Linked DNA regions of Homo sapiens: region 1 is linked to region 2. The links are contacts of gene promoters, found by promoter capture Hi-C in human tissues and cell types (Jung and others, 2019). All regions are on one chromosome and are shown on one strand. The core of a region is centred on a gene start or on the middle of the fragment in contact, and the rest is flanking DNA. Distances in the headings are between cores, read along the strand shown. Region 1 holds the start of ZCCHC14 (zinc finger CCHC-type containing 14). Region 2 holds the start of KLHDC4 (kelch domain containing 4).

Region 1 (7,002 bases), core at 1,390-3,889, 270 kb before region 2:
ATTCCCTTCCAAAAAATAATCAGTTTGTAATCTAAATACACATCACACCAGGTCAAAGTAATCTCTTCCGGCAGCAAAATTTTGGCACTGGATTGCAGGGGGCTGTTCAAAATAGCTGGAGCCCCAGACACTTTGCGTTTTCAGTTCTGAAACACTTAGACAAAAGTTCACATCGCTAAGTGGATGGCCAGGACGCCCTTCCGGTTCAATTTGGAGACCGGAGATCTTTAACCTAACCTAACATTCCTTAAGGCATCGGTGCCCTCCCACTCAAAGTCAGCCTGGGTTTTGTTTCTAAGGGTCGCCAATAAATAGGTTTCACGGGCATTTAAGGCTCTGGGAGTCTTTTTCTGTCTGTTACAGGTAGCCCGGCTCTTAAAAACGATCACACACAACGTTCACAAGCATGTGCACATTCATACACACGTGTGCACATATACATGCCCACATGCGACACACGCGTACATCATACAGCATGCACGTGTCCATAAATGAGCTCACACGGACAGCCATGTCCCGCGCCCAGGCCCCCAGCGACACAGGCCCCAAGCAGGGCCTCCACCTGTGTGGAGGGAGCGGCTCAGACGGGGAAGCCCCAGCGCCTTGCAATGTTCACCTCACCGGCGGCTTCTGGCGTGGCCACGGCTCCTTCCTTTTCTGGTAATAAATACCAGATTTGGGGAAACCAAGGCGCCGCAATGTGTGTTATCTGTCACCCAAGGGCCCCATTAAGGGGACAAAGGCCTTATCGCGTTTGCAGCCGGCTAAGTGAAAGGAGGGCACCTGGGACTGTGAGCTCTGACCGCGGACGTCTCCCGCACCGCTCCCGCGGATCCTCGGACCCAGGGCCCCTGCAGCCGCTCCTGCCCAAGGGGCGCGAGGCGGAGGTGTGGAGGCTTTGGGGCACGCAGAGGGGACTGAGGGTGTGGGCTCAGGGCCGCGGTGCGGTCTTGGGGCTTAAAGTGCAGACTTAGGGTGAGGAGTGCGGGCTTAGGATGGGGGCTTGGGATGTACGGCGGAGGCTTGGGATGTACGGCGGAGGCTTGGGATGTACGGTGGAGGCTTGGAGAGGTGGGGCACACATTTGGGGTGCGACATAGAGGCTTAGGATGGGGCTTGGGATACGGGCTGGGGGCTCGTGGTGCAGGTTGGAGACCTGGGTGGGAGCTCTCAGTGCAGGCTGGAGGCGTGGGTCGGGGGGTCGCGGTGCAGGCTGGAGGCTTGGAGTGCAGAGTTGGGGATGCAGACTTGGGGTACAGGGCAGAGCTCGGGGCGGGCACGCACCTTGTGGCAGGCTGGGCAAGTGGGCAGCGCGCCGCCCGGCCCGGGCGCGCCCTTGCCGCCGTGGCCCCCGCCGCCGTTCAGGCTGCTCTGGATCTGCGTGAGCTCCTGGCGCAGCACCTGCTTCTGGTGGAAGCTGAAGGCCGGGTGGTTGGAGGCCATGGTGAACAGCAGCAGGAACTCATCGCCCGTGCGGCCCTCGTTAAGCTGCAGCCCGTAGTTGTGGATGATGGAGTCGATGTGCGTGAGCGTGCGGTAGAGCACGCCCGCCGCCTCGCGCTGCTCCGAGCCCAGCAGCGCCAGCGACACCAGCAGCTTGCTGCGCACCACCTCGTCCGTCAGGTTGGTGAGGCTGCCCAGGTCGGCCGGGTTGTTGGCCTTGATCTCCGAGTCGCGCAGCGAGTGGTAGTCCTTGCGGGCCAGGTCCTCCAGGCACGAGCCGAGGAAGCGAAGCTCGAGCGGGATGCACAGGTCCAGCAGGCCGCACAGGAACTCCACGCGCTGCGGCGACGGCAGCTCCGAGAACCAGCGGTACACGCCGTCCCTCTGCAGCGGGCAGCGCTTCTCCACCATGCTGCCGCCCGCGCCGCGCCGCGACCCGGGGCCGGGGACCGCGCGGGGGCGGCCGGGGGGCGCCGGGGGCCGCGGCCGGGGCGCGCCGGGACCGGGGACGCGCGGGCCGGGGCCGGGTCCGGGCGAGGGCGCGCGGGCGCCGCGGGCCGGGCGGGCGCCGGGGCGGGGGCGGGGACCGGGGCCGGGCAAGGCTCCCGTCAGGGGCCGGCGGGCGGGCGCGCGCGGGGCGCCGGGGGGGCCCGGGGCGGCCGGGGCGGCCGGGGGCGGCGAGCGGCCTCGGGCCCCCCGCTCACGGGGAGGCGCCTTCCCCGCGCCCGTGCCCAGCGGCGGCCGGTGCGCGGCGGCGGCGGCGGCTGCTCCTCGTCGTCGTCGTCGTCGTCGCCCGGGAGGCGGCCGCCCCCATCTCCCCCCGCGCCGCAGGGTCTGTCACTGCGGGCCGCCCCCCGACGGAGCCGCCCCGGCCATGCCGTCGCCGCCGCCCGCGCCTCCGCCCAGGCCGGCCGTTACCCCGGGCCGCGGGCGCGGCGTCGCCGCCTGGGGAGCGCTGGGGGCCGCGGCCGCGAAACGGACGCTGGAGGGGGAGGGACGCGCGGCGGGAGGCGCGGAGGGATCCGGCCGGGACTTGCCGGCCTTGCTGCTCCCGCGCGGCGGACGGATCCGGGCCCGAGCGCGGCGGCGGCGGCGACGGCGACGGCGACGGCGACGGCGACGGCGGAGGAGGCGCCGGCCGAGGAGCGGAGGGATCGTCGCGCTCGCGGCTGACGGGCGGCCGGGATCAGCAGAAGTGGGCGGGGTGGCCGCCTCTCGCGACAGCCCGGGCCTGCCGGGCCCGTCCCCCCCCCACTGATTGGCTCAGGCGGCCCGTTCTCGGCCCGTGATTGTGCCGGGTCCCCAATCCCATTCGCCCGTTCCGCGGCCACGCCTCCCTGGGGGCTGTCGATCATGTTGGGGCCACCGCCTCCCGTCCCTCGGCGGCCGTCAAGACGCGATTGGTCCGCGGAATCGGAGAGGCGGAAAACCCGGGCTGGATTTCTGGTTGCTTTTGTTCCCGCAAATTTGCGTGGAGCATTGTTTTTCGGCGAAAACGGGGCGTTCGGCCTTCCTGCTTTATTTTTGAGCGGTGTAAGAGGGAGGTAGTGGGTATCTTCGAGAAACGGCCGCCGCGGGGTCCGGAGCCCCGGGTTCCAATCCCGGGTCGGCCACTGCAAAGCTGTGTGACCTTGGGCGAGTCACTTGGCCTCTCTGAGCCCCAGGCGCCTCCCCGGGAAAAAGAGGGTAATAATAACCGCCCCCGAGGTTTGTGCGAAGGTGTTGAGCTCACAGAGGGCCGGCACCGGCACTTTTGAGGCGGCTGACTTGCCCTGGGGGTGTGATGGGAGGTGCAAGCTTTCTCCAAAAGCCTCGTCCAAATGGAGCCTTTAAATCCGCCTTCTTTCCGCGGCTACTTCACCAGCTCGCCAAACGCAGAAAATGCAAACACAGGGGAGGGGGCAAGGGAGCTGACCTGGCTGGAAGTAAACAGAAACGCCACCCTCCCCTGGCACTTGCATTGGCACCGGATTGCAGGTGGGGGAAGGGCCGGTGCACCCAACCACCTTTAAATCCCACCACTTACACACAGGCATAGAAGTAGAGCCGCGGGGGCTGGACGCTCATTCCTCCCCTGCCCTTCCCCTAGAGCGCTGCTTTGAATGTCTGTTGATCTAGAACGGGGTCTGTTCATTCATGGGTTCCAGGTCCCAAGCGCCCGGGGGCAGCTGAGAGCAAAGCTGGCGCCCTCCCTACCCTGTGGAGCTTACACTCTGGTTCTGGGCAGTGCACACTAGAGATTGGTTAAATCAATGAATGAACTTTTTCAGGATATGGTCCAAGGTGCTGAAAACTTCCTAACAAAACTCTTCAGCCGAATCTGGCACGCCTGTGGTTCCAGCTACTGGGTAGACCGAGGCAGGAGGATCGCTTGAGGCCAAGAGTTTAAGACCAACCTGGGCAACATGGTGAGACCCCCCCTCCCCGCCCCAGTCGCTCCAAAACAAACAAACCCCACATTCTCCAGTCTTAGGTCTTCGAGGATGAACAGAGATTGCAGAAAGGCATGGTTGGGAACAAAAAAAATTGCTCTCCACTCCCCCAGCCCCCTCCACACCTTGGGCACATTTCCCTGGAGCTGCCCCAGTGTTCTTTGTCAGTGTAGGAAGAAGCAAAAATCTAAATGGAGTCAGGATGGCCTCCCACATGGGCACAAGGGCAAGGCTGGGGACAGTTGGGTCTCCTCATCTTATTTCCCAGGTCTAGGCTGATTTCTATTAATAATTAAATTAATCGTCGTTGTCCTGGACCTCACTTCTTAATGTGATTCCAGGGAACTGGCCACATTCCAAAATTCATAATCTAAGGTAGTGAAAGAACGTGAACATCAAGACAGTTTGGCTGGGCTCAGAGGCTCACATCTGTAATCCCAGTACTTTGGGAGGCCGAGGGTAGATCCCTTGAGCCCAGGAGTTCGAGACCAGCCTGGGCAACATGGCGAAATCCCATCTCTACAAAAACTACAAAAATTAGCCAGATGTGGTGGCATGTGCCTGTAGTCCCAGGTACTTGGGAGACTGCAGTGGAAGGATTGCCCGAGCCCGGGAAAGGGAGGTTGCGGTGAATGGGGATCCCGCCACTGCACTCCAGCCTGGGTGACAGCGTAAGACTCTGTCTCAAAAACAAAACAAAACAAAAGATTCATTTCTTATTGATAAAGCAAGCTCCTTGGAGAAAGATCTTGGAACCTCATTAGTGCTGGGGGTGGGGGTGGGGCTTCTTCAATCCAGCCGAGCTGGCTGTGAAACCCCCAGGCTTTGGTACCAAGTGAGCTCCAGTCCCAGCTGTGGCTGACTGTGTGAACTTGGCTATGCATTCAGAGGCCTCTGAGCCTCAGTTTCCTCATCTGTAGAAGACAGCCAGGAACCCGTCATCCTGGCTAGCAGTGGAAGTCAAAGGTGCTCATGGAAAGCCCTTGCTGGCTGGAACAAGGGAGGCCTGAGCTGTGGAAGTCCTTGGATCAAGGTCCTCCCCACTTCCCGCTGCCTTTTTGGTCCTTCTTGCGTGCTCTTTGTGATTTAATGGCTTAGTAGGTTGAATCATGTCCCCCCAAAGTTTATCTCTACCCCAAATCTCAGAATGTGACCTTATTTGGGAAAAGAGTCTTTGCAGATATAATTAAGGTAAGAGTCAAGATAAAATCACACTGAATTAAGGTGAGCCCTACATGCAATGAGACTGTCCTTACAAGATACAGAAAAGAACACATAGAGACTTCGGGGGAAAGGAGACTATGTGCAAGAATGGCAGAGATTGGAGCCAAGGAGTGCCTGGGCCTACCAGAGGCTGCAAGAGACAGGGAGGACCCTCCCCTAGAGCCTCCAGAGGGAACAGAGCCATGCCCACACCTTGACTTTGGACTCCTGGCCTCCAGAACTGTGAGAGGGTAAGTTGCTATTGTTTTCAACCCCCAACCCCCACCCTCCCCCACCCCCCGACCCTCTCCCACCCCCATCTCCCACCCCTCCCCCATCCCCATCTCCCACCCCCCCCCCACCCCTCCCCTACCCCCATCTCCCCACCCCTCCCTCACTCACGCGTGTTGTGGTTACTTGTAGGGCAGCCAGGGAAACCGAAACAATGTCATATCCCCCCAGACATCGGTGTGGCTCAGCTCAATCCAGTTCACAACAAATATGAAATCCCTGCCCTACAGGACCAGGCCTCAGGAAGGGCTTGGGGGCCTCAGAGGCAAATGAGACCAGGTCCATCGACCCTACAGAACTGACAACCTGGACTCCCCACTCTGAAGCAGGCAGGCTGCCTGAAGGAGGGGGCCTCCCTCATAAGGAGAGGGCAGACGCTGACCTCCCGGGCCCTCCAGCATTCTCTGGGTCCTGGCCCCGAGATTCTGGTTTTCCACACAGGGCACCTACTGTCTCCCGCTTCCCTGACTCTGCCCGTGCACAAGGTAACCCCAGCTGCAAGCGTGCCAGGAGCTTTTCTCCACCTCTGCCTCGACATCTGCCGCCTCTCCTCCTCTGGAGAGGGAGGCAGCTGAAGGACAGCAGCCCCACGCCTTGCTGGAGCGGCTGAGATCGCTGGGAGGAGGTTGGGAGAGGACTCAGGGGCTCAGGCTAGATCAGGAGGGTGGGCCCTGCCTCCTTGTGAGGGGGCCCAGCACCAGGGGGAGCCCACAGTCTAGGGTGCTGTTCAGCCAAATTGGCTACCACTGGGTGTGAGGTCTGTGGTTGTGCAGGGTTGAAGGGCTGGGTGTCATTTGCCTCTGAGGCCCCCAAGCCCTTCCTGAGGCCTGGTCCTATAGGGCAAGGATAGACTATTTATTGTAAACTGGGTTGCGCTGAGAGCCACACTCATGTTTAGGGGGAAATGCCATTTTATTGGTTTCCTGTGACTGCCCTACAAATAACCACAAAGAGGCGAGGGGAGAAGTGGGGGCTGTCCCTTCCACAGAGCTGCAATCAAGCACAAATGACTCTAATAGTATCAATTGTGAGAGAGAGAGAGAGATTTGGAGTTCACCACAAATTCCCCAAACAAACAATTTTACAAGAAGGACATGACCCGCCTGGCGTTACTGCTTAGTTCTGAATGAGTGATACCGACTGCAGCAGGTGACCAGGCCAAGCCCAGAAATGGGCCACAGGGACCCCAAGCACATGCTCTTCCCCCAGACTGCCACCATCTTGCTTTTCCTTCAGACCTAGGACCCCACGAGAGGAGGGATCTGGAGGCCAAGCCAGGAGCAGGACAACACCAACAGAGGCCTCAGAAGAAGACTCAGAGTGGGACAGGGGCTCCTTAAGTGATTGGGGCTGGAAGTGCGCAGAGAAGCCCGGCGCGGCAGGGAATTGTCTCTCCCTGGGGTGCTGCCAAGGTGTGTGTGGTCTCTAGCTGCAACGTGCGCTTCCTTCCCTTGGCCTGACTCCTGCTTTCCTGTCATTGAGAAGGTTTGGGACCTGACACCCTGAGCATGGAGGCCATAAATCCAGTGGATCCCTAAATTTCCTGATGGGGTCCTGGCTCCAGGCCTCGGTGCCTGACAGCCTCGTGTAATTGACAAAACCCCATGGAGCTGTTTCTGATACTGAATTCCCA
Region 2 (7,122 bases), core at 241-2,740:
AAAATTAGCTGGGTGTGGTGGTGCATGCCTGTAATCTCAGCTACTTGGGAGGCTGAGGCAGGAGAACCACTTGAACCTGGGAGGCGGAGGTGCAGTGAGCTGAGATCGCACCATTGCACTCCACCCTGGGCAACAAGAGTGAAACTCCTTCAAAAAAAAAAAAAAAAAAAAAAAAAAAAAGCAGAAAGCAGCTAACAGCTGGTTACTGAGTGCTTACTTTCTGCCAAGCACCATTCTGAAGATACCACACAGATGAACTGACTTCCTGTGCCACAACCCTAGCCAGCAGGTCATGCCACTGCAGCCCAGCCTAGGTGACAGAGCAAGACTCTGTCAAAAAAAAAAAAAAAAAAAAGAAAGAGCCTAAGAGGAGTGTGAGGGAAAAGTCCAACTCCATTATTTAAGAGATGAGGACATGGAGAGATCAATGACTTAGGAAGAAAAGGGACAAAGGACTGTGGTCAAGAGCTCCTGATTCAGGACATCTGGTCACATCCCAGTTCCATACCACTTCATGGTTCACCTGTTGGTCTTCCTGTCAAATGGGAATACCAGTGCTACGGAACTGACCTGCTCGTGAGGAGTAAAGCCCAGGGAGCTGTGCCTGGCGCACGGCAGGCCATAAAACTGGCCCCGGTTAGGGAATCCATGAGCAGCAGCCGCAGAACACTCAACCCCAAGGTCAGGACGGATCCTCCTGCAGACCCCGGGCTGAGGACCAGAGGGAAGGAGACAACCGTGATGGCCGCCATCAGCTGCTACGGGATACCCCGTGGCTCCAGTGCCTTCTTCACTTAACCATCTGCTGCTCACTGCTCAGGGCTGCTGTGATGATTATTTGCCCTCTTTTGAAAGAAAAGTAAGGTTCAGAAAAGTTAAGAGTCTTACTCCCAGACCACACATCATGCAGAGGCAGCCCCCGGCTCAACCTCAGGTCTTCCTGTGCCAAACCCCTCCCTCTTCTCACCACCCAGCCTCCCTTCAGAGGGAGGGTGGAGGGAGAAGGGAGGAGGGGGAGGAAACGCAGAAAAACGCCCGTGACACCACACTAAGAAAAGCAAGCACGTTAAAGGGGGCAGCTCCGAGAAGCGGACAGACACACGTGGAGACTCAGGAGGGGGCGGGCCCCGTCTGGGCTGCCCGGACGCGGCGCCGGGGCAGTTCCTACGGCCTCCAGCTCTCCCGCAGGGCCGGCGCGGCTCCCACGGCCGACCCGTAACCCCGGGGGGCGCAGGGAGTCGGCCGAGGCTGCACGGCCGCGACGTCGGGCCGCTAAGCCCGGTCTGACCCGCTCACCTCCTCCTTCCGCGAGCGCTTAGACACCTTCTTCTCCATCTTGGCGGCCGTCTTCTCCGCGCCGCGGCCCTTCTTCTCCTTCTTGCCCTTCTTGCCCATCTTGCCGGGTCCCAAGCCGCGACGGGACACCAGGAAAGAAAACGGCCCGCGCTCTCCGCTCGGAAACAGGTGCTCGTGGGGCGGAGCTCGGCGCACAGAAATGGAGTCACTTCCGGCCCCGAGTTCGAGCCGCTTCCGGGTAGAGGTGCGGCTGGGCCCTTTACGAGGTTCGGTCTTGGAGCTCCGTCTTCGGCAGCGGGCTCGGGGGCCTCGGACTCTGCATAAGGCCCCGGAAAAGATGACCGGCCCCGGGCTGGGCGCGGTGGCTCATGCCTGTAACCCTGGAGCTTTGGGAGGCCTTGGCGGGCGGATCGCTTGAGTCCAGGAGTTCGAGATCAGCCTGGGCAACAAAGCGAGACACCACCCCCCACCCCCAGTCGCTACAGAAGAAAAAAAAAAAAATTAACCGGGCGTGGTGTCTCGCGCCCAGTGGTCCTAGCTCCTCGGGAAGGTGAGGCGGGAAGATCGCTTGAGTCAAGGAGTTCCAGGCAGCAATGCGCCCCTGCACCCCAACCTGGGCGACAGAGCGAGATCCTGTTTCAAAAAACAAAAAAGATGGCAGCCCCGGCCTGACATACCCCGGCCATGCTCGCCAATTCTCACGCCCTGTGCCCCCACCTAGCCTGTCCCCGTGTCCTAGGAGACGTGCCCTCTGAGTTTTATTTTTTATTTCTATTTTTTTGAGGCAGGGTCTTGCTCTGTCGCCCAGGCTGGAGTGCGGTAGCGCGATCTCGGCTCGCTGTAACCTCCGCCTCTGGAGTAGCTGGGACCACAGGAGCCCACCACGCCCGGCTCATTTTCTCTTGAGTTTTCCGGGGTGCACGTGCCCCCCGTTAAGGCACATTGCTTCGCCCTGGGTAGAACTAAGTGGGCGACTCTTGGGCTAGCCCCATTTTTTCCCCTCAGACCAAACAAATGAGTGCTTTTTTCCCAGAAAAAAAATTTCACACAGTTATAAGATTTTGCAGATCCTGAGTAAGACAGTCCCTGCCGGGCGCGGTGGCTCACGCCTGTAATCCCAGCACTTTGGGAGGCCGAGGTGAGTGGATCACGAGGTCAGGAGTTCGAGACCAGCCTAGCCAACATGGTGAAACCCCCGTCTCTACTAAAACTACAAAAATTAGCCAGGCGTGGTGGTGGGCACCTGTAATCCCAGCTACTTGGGAGGCTGAGGCAGGAGAATTGCTTGAACCCAGGGGGCAGAGGTTGCAATGAGCTGAGATCAAGCCACTTCACTCCAGCTTGGGCAAAAGAGCAAAATTCCATCTTAAAAAAAAAAAAAAATGGGGGGGCCCTTCCACCTTCCCATTTAAAATGTGCCAGACACTGTTAGGTACTAAGGGCATGTCCTCAAATGTCCTAACATGGAGGACTTTTGTTTCTTCATAGGTAGGCTAGAGCTAATGATAGCACCCTGAAAGGGTACTCAATTTGTGGAGCCTGAGAAATAAAGATAGGTAATATCCAAATGCCTGCTAGGAAATTGTACTCTAGGATTTGCCTCAAATTACGTAAGAAATGGCAAAATCATCTGCAGTGCATGGAATGTTATGATTTGAAAGAGCAGAGTAAAAATGCTTATCACTACTTAGAAGATGTCATCTTTGGATGGGTAATCAAGGAATAAGGCAAATTAAGGACAAGGACAAGCCAAAATTTGGCAAAGGGAAAGCATAAATCAGGAAATAATCTAGTTTATTACTTTGTGTGTGAGTCAGCCTTTAAAAGTTCTCTTAGGCCAGGCGTGGTGGTTCATTCCTGTAATCCCAGCACTTTGGGAGGCTGAAGCGGGCTGATCACGAGGTCAGGAGTTCAAGACCAGCCTGGCCAATATGGTGAAACCCTGTCTCCACTAAAAATACAAAAAAAAAAAAAAAAATTAGCCAGGTGTGGTGGCACCCACCTGTAGTCCCAACTATTCAGGAGGCTGAGGCAAAAGAATCATTTGAACCTAGGCGGCAGAGGTTGCAGTGAGCGGAGATTGCACCACTGCACTCCAGCCTGGGCGACAAAGCAAGACTCCATCTCAAAAAAAAAAAAAAAAAAAGATGTTATCTTAGATCCAGCCAGGTGTGATGGCTCACGCCTGTAATCCTAGCACTTTGAGAGGCAGAGGCAGGCAGATCACCTGAGGTCAGGAGTTTGAGACCAGCCTGATCAACATGGTGAAACCCCATCTCCACTAAAAATACAAAATTAGACAGGCATGGTGGTGCGCACCTGTAATCCCAGCTACTCGGGAGGCTGAGTCAGGAGAATGGCTTGAGCCTGGGAGACAGAGGTTGCAGTGAGCCGAGACTGAACCACTGCACTCCAGCCTGGGCAACAGAGCTAGACTCCGTCTCAAAAAAAAAAAAAAAAAGAAGAAGTTAACTCGGCCAGGCGTAGTGGCTCACATCTGTAATCCCAGCACTTTGGGAGGCCAAGGTGGGCAGATCACGAGGTCAGGAGTTCAAAACCAGCCTGGCCAACATGGTGAAACCCCGTCTCTACAAAAATACAAAAAAATTAGCCAGGTGTGGTGGTGTGCACCTTTAATCCCAGCTACTCAGGAGGCTGAGGTAGGAGAATTGCTTGAACCGGGAGGAAAGGTTGCGGTGAGCCCAGATCACGCCATTGCACTCCAGCCTGGGCAGCAAAAGCGAAACTCTGTCTCAAAAACAAAAAAAGTTACCTTAGATCCAATCAATGACTAGTCACTGAGCAGCTGAGGAGGAATGATTTTCCAACCCACTCCAAGCCTTATCCATAAACCTAGCTCTTTAAGAAGAAAAATGAAATTTGGGGAAATAATGAGAAGAAAAGATAGCACTGGTTGAAGACCACCATGGTCTCCAGCACTGCTTGTAGGAAACCTATGTGGTGGTAGAAAAAAAAAACCGGTTAGGAGCTGAGCAGAAAGGAGCTGGAGAATTTCACAGAAACCCAGCCTGGGCATCCAGGCATGTTTATCTTCCATGACGAACTACAAAAGGCTAAATCCTCACTATTGCCCTCGGGAAATAGTTCTGTCCCCTCTAGTGTACTATGACTTTAAGAACATACGTAATCCTTTAATATTTTTCTAAAAATCCTGGGTAAACCTGAGGCAATGCACTTGAAGCCAAAAGGCTCTTCATTCACAGCACATCTGGCTGCAGTACATTACAGTGGTGCCCACTTCAGGCCGGAGACAGGGAGAGCGTATGACCTATTGAAGATTTAGGAGGATCTGGTGGATGCGGGGTTTAATACTTTTATTATCTGAAAGAAGCTTGAAGCTAAATTAGAAGGCTCTTGGATTATAGGTGTCATGGTGATTTACGTGAGACTGAAATTCTCATACTGAGAAAGACGGAATAGAACATCTAAAATGAGATCAGATCCTAAAATAGTCAAAAGATTAAGTACAAGGCTCTATTTTAGTAAAATTCACATTGTTGAAACTTTCATGGATTATCTTTAATCTGTCGCTGACTTTTAGAGTGTATCTTTTGTGTGATCAGGCGCCCTCTGCTGCCTTCAAGTTGAAGTGCAGAAGAGAAAAAAAATCTATTAATAATAGATTAAATTTTAGGAAAATATGCTAACTTCTAATTATCCTCACCACAAGTAATCAATGTGATTGGAAGGTTCTGCCAAGTGTGGTATGGATTACGTGGCTCTTTGCACGTTTCCCAGCAGGAAAGTGGGAATAATGAACTAGTTCACCTATTACACAGGATTCTTGGGAAAATCAAGTGAAACAATAATAAAGCTTAGGAAAGAGGCCAGGCGCGGTGGCTCACGCCTGTAATCCCAGCACTTTGGGAGGCTGAGGCGGGTGGATCACGAGGTCAGGAGATCAAGACCATCCTGGCTAACACGGTGAAACCCCGTCTCTACTAAAAATACAAAAAATTAGCCGGGCGCGGTGGCGGGCGCCTGTAGTCCCAGTACTCGGGAAGCTGAGGCAGGAGAATGGCGTGAACCCGGGAGGCGGAGCTTGCAGTGAGCCAAGATCGCACCATTGCACTCCAGCCTGGGCGACAGAGTGAGACTCCGTCTCAAAAAATAAAAATTAAAAATAAATAAAATAAAGCTTAGGGAAGTAAAAAAGCAAAACACAAAGGCTTTTTTTTTTTTTTTTTGAGACAGAGTCTCACTCTGTCACCCAGGCTGGAGTGCAGTGGCACTATCTCAGCTCACTGCAACCTCCGGCTCCCAAGTTCTTACCTCAGCCTCCCAGGTAGCTGGGATTACAGGCATCTGCCACCACACCCAGCTAATTTTTGTATGTTTTATAGAGACAAGGTTTCACCATGTAGGCCAAGCTGGTCTCAAACTCCTGACCTCACGTGATCCACCCGACTGGGCATCTTAAAGTGCTGGGATTACAGGCGTGAGCCACCATGCTGGCCTTACTGAATTTTTCCCACTTCTTTGAATCCATTCCAGAGAGAGGAATAATAAGATTTCCAACTATAATCAGGGATTTATCTATGTGTTGCTTATATACAATAAACTGTATATATTTCAAGTGTGCACAGGTGGCTGGGGTGAGGCAGGTGGCTGCTGAGGAGCAAGAGGGATCTACAGTTGTCCCCTGCCCTATGAGAAGGGCCACCCACTCAGGAGGGGCCTCAAGGGATGATGAGAAATGAGTATGGAATTTGTCAGCCTTGAAGTTCCAAATTGGAAACCTGGAAACATGTGTCCCGTCTTCTTCATCAAGATTGTCCAATTTTTTTTCTTTTTTTTTTTTTTTTTTTTTGAGACGGAGTCTCACTCTGTCTCCCAGGCTGGAGGGCAGTGGCGCTATCTCGGCTCACTGCAAGCTCCGCCTTCCGGGTTCACGCCATTCTCCTGCCTCAGCCTTCCAAGTAGTTGGGAAAACAGGCGCCCGCCACCATGCCCGGCTAATTTTTTTTTGTATTTTTAGTAGAGACGGGGTTTCACCATGTTAGCCAGGATGGTCTCGATCTCCTGACCTCGTGATCCGCCCGCCTCAGCCTCCCAAAGTGCTGGGATTACAGATATGAGCCACCGCGCCCGGCCGATTTTCCAGTGTCATAGCATAAAGCAATAAGTGATGTTCTTCTAATTAAAACAATAAATTAAAGTGTAGAATTTAATATGTATTAATACTATCAAGGTCTGGCCAGGCACAGTGGCTCACGCCTGTAATCTCAGCACTTTGGGAGGCCGAGGCAGGCAGATCACAAGATCGGGAGATCGAGACCATCCTCGCTAACACAGTGAAACCCCGTCTCTACTAAAAATAGAAAAATTAGCCAGGCGTGGCGGCATGTGCCTGTAGTCCCAGCTGCTGGAGAGGCTGAGGCAGGAGAATGGCGTGAACCCGGGAGGCAGAGCTTGCAGTGAGCTGAGATCGCGCCACTGCACCCCAGCCTGGGCGACAGAGTGAGATTCCATCTCAAAAAAAAAAAAAATACTATCAAGGTCAAATAAAAATATAGAGATGGATCTCTAAACAAAACACCTTGTATGGGAATCATAGAATTATATTTTGAGGCATATCCACAGGCTGGGGTGAACTTCAATATGTCCAAAGAACAAAGAGAAGGTTGGGGGTTTTATTAAAAAGAGAAATGTGGCCAGGCGCGGTGGCTCATGCCTGTAATTCCAACACTTTGGGAGGTCAAGGTGGGTGGATCATTTGAGATCAGGAGTTCAAGACCAGCCTGGCCAACATGGTGAAACCCCATCTCTACTAAAAATACAAAAGTTAGCTGGACGTGGTGACAT

What was found. Contacts are between HindIII fragments. The study calls those that stand out against the background at their distance.
Region 1: the fragment with the promoter of ZCCHC14 here is called in contact with the fragment with the promoter of KLHDC4 in region 2 in 4 of the 25 tissues and cell types used here (dorsolateral prefrontal cortex, hippocampus, lymphoblastoid cells and 1 more).

The regions. Positions count from the first base shown.
Region 1 is chr16:87,490,385-87,497,386 of GRCh38, forward strand. It overlaps ZCCHC14 (zinc finger CCHC-type containing 14), which reads right to left and starts at 2,640. Exons shown (of 13, transcript NM_015144.3): 1 at 1,285-2,640. The coding sequence starts at 1,854. ZCCHC14-DT (ZCCHC14 divergent transcript) reads left to right here and starts at 3,803. Exons shown (of 4, transcript NR_110943.1): 1 at 3,803-3,851. RefSeq lists a silencer at 2,579-2,758. The HindIII fragment of the contact is 17,996 bases long and covers 1-7,002 here.
Region 2 is chr16:87,764,496-87,771,617 of GRCh38, forward strand. KLHDC4 (kelch domain containing 4) reads right to left here and starts at 1,491. Exons shown (of 12, transcript NM_017566.4): 1 at 1,297-1,491. The coding sequence starts at 1,395. LOC105371399 (a long non-coding RNA gene) reads left to right here and starts at 1,546. Exons shown (of 3, transcript XR_933871.3): 1 at 1,546-1,846. LOC102724467 (a long non-coding RNA gene) reads right to left here. Exons shown (of 4, transcript NR_120309.1): 4 at 1,836-1,929. RefSeq lists enhancers at 779-1,403, 1,387-1,446, 1,527-1,586. The HindIII fragment of the contact is 6,630 bases long and covers 1-4,889 here.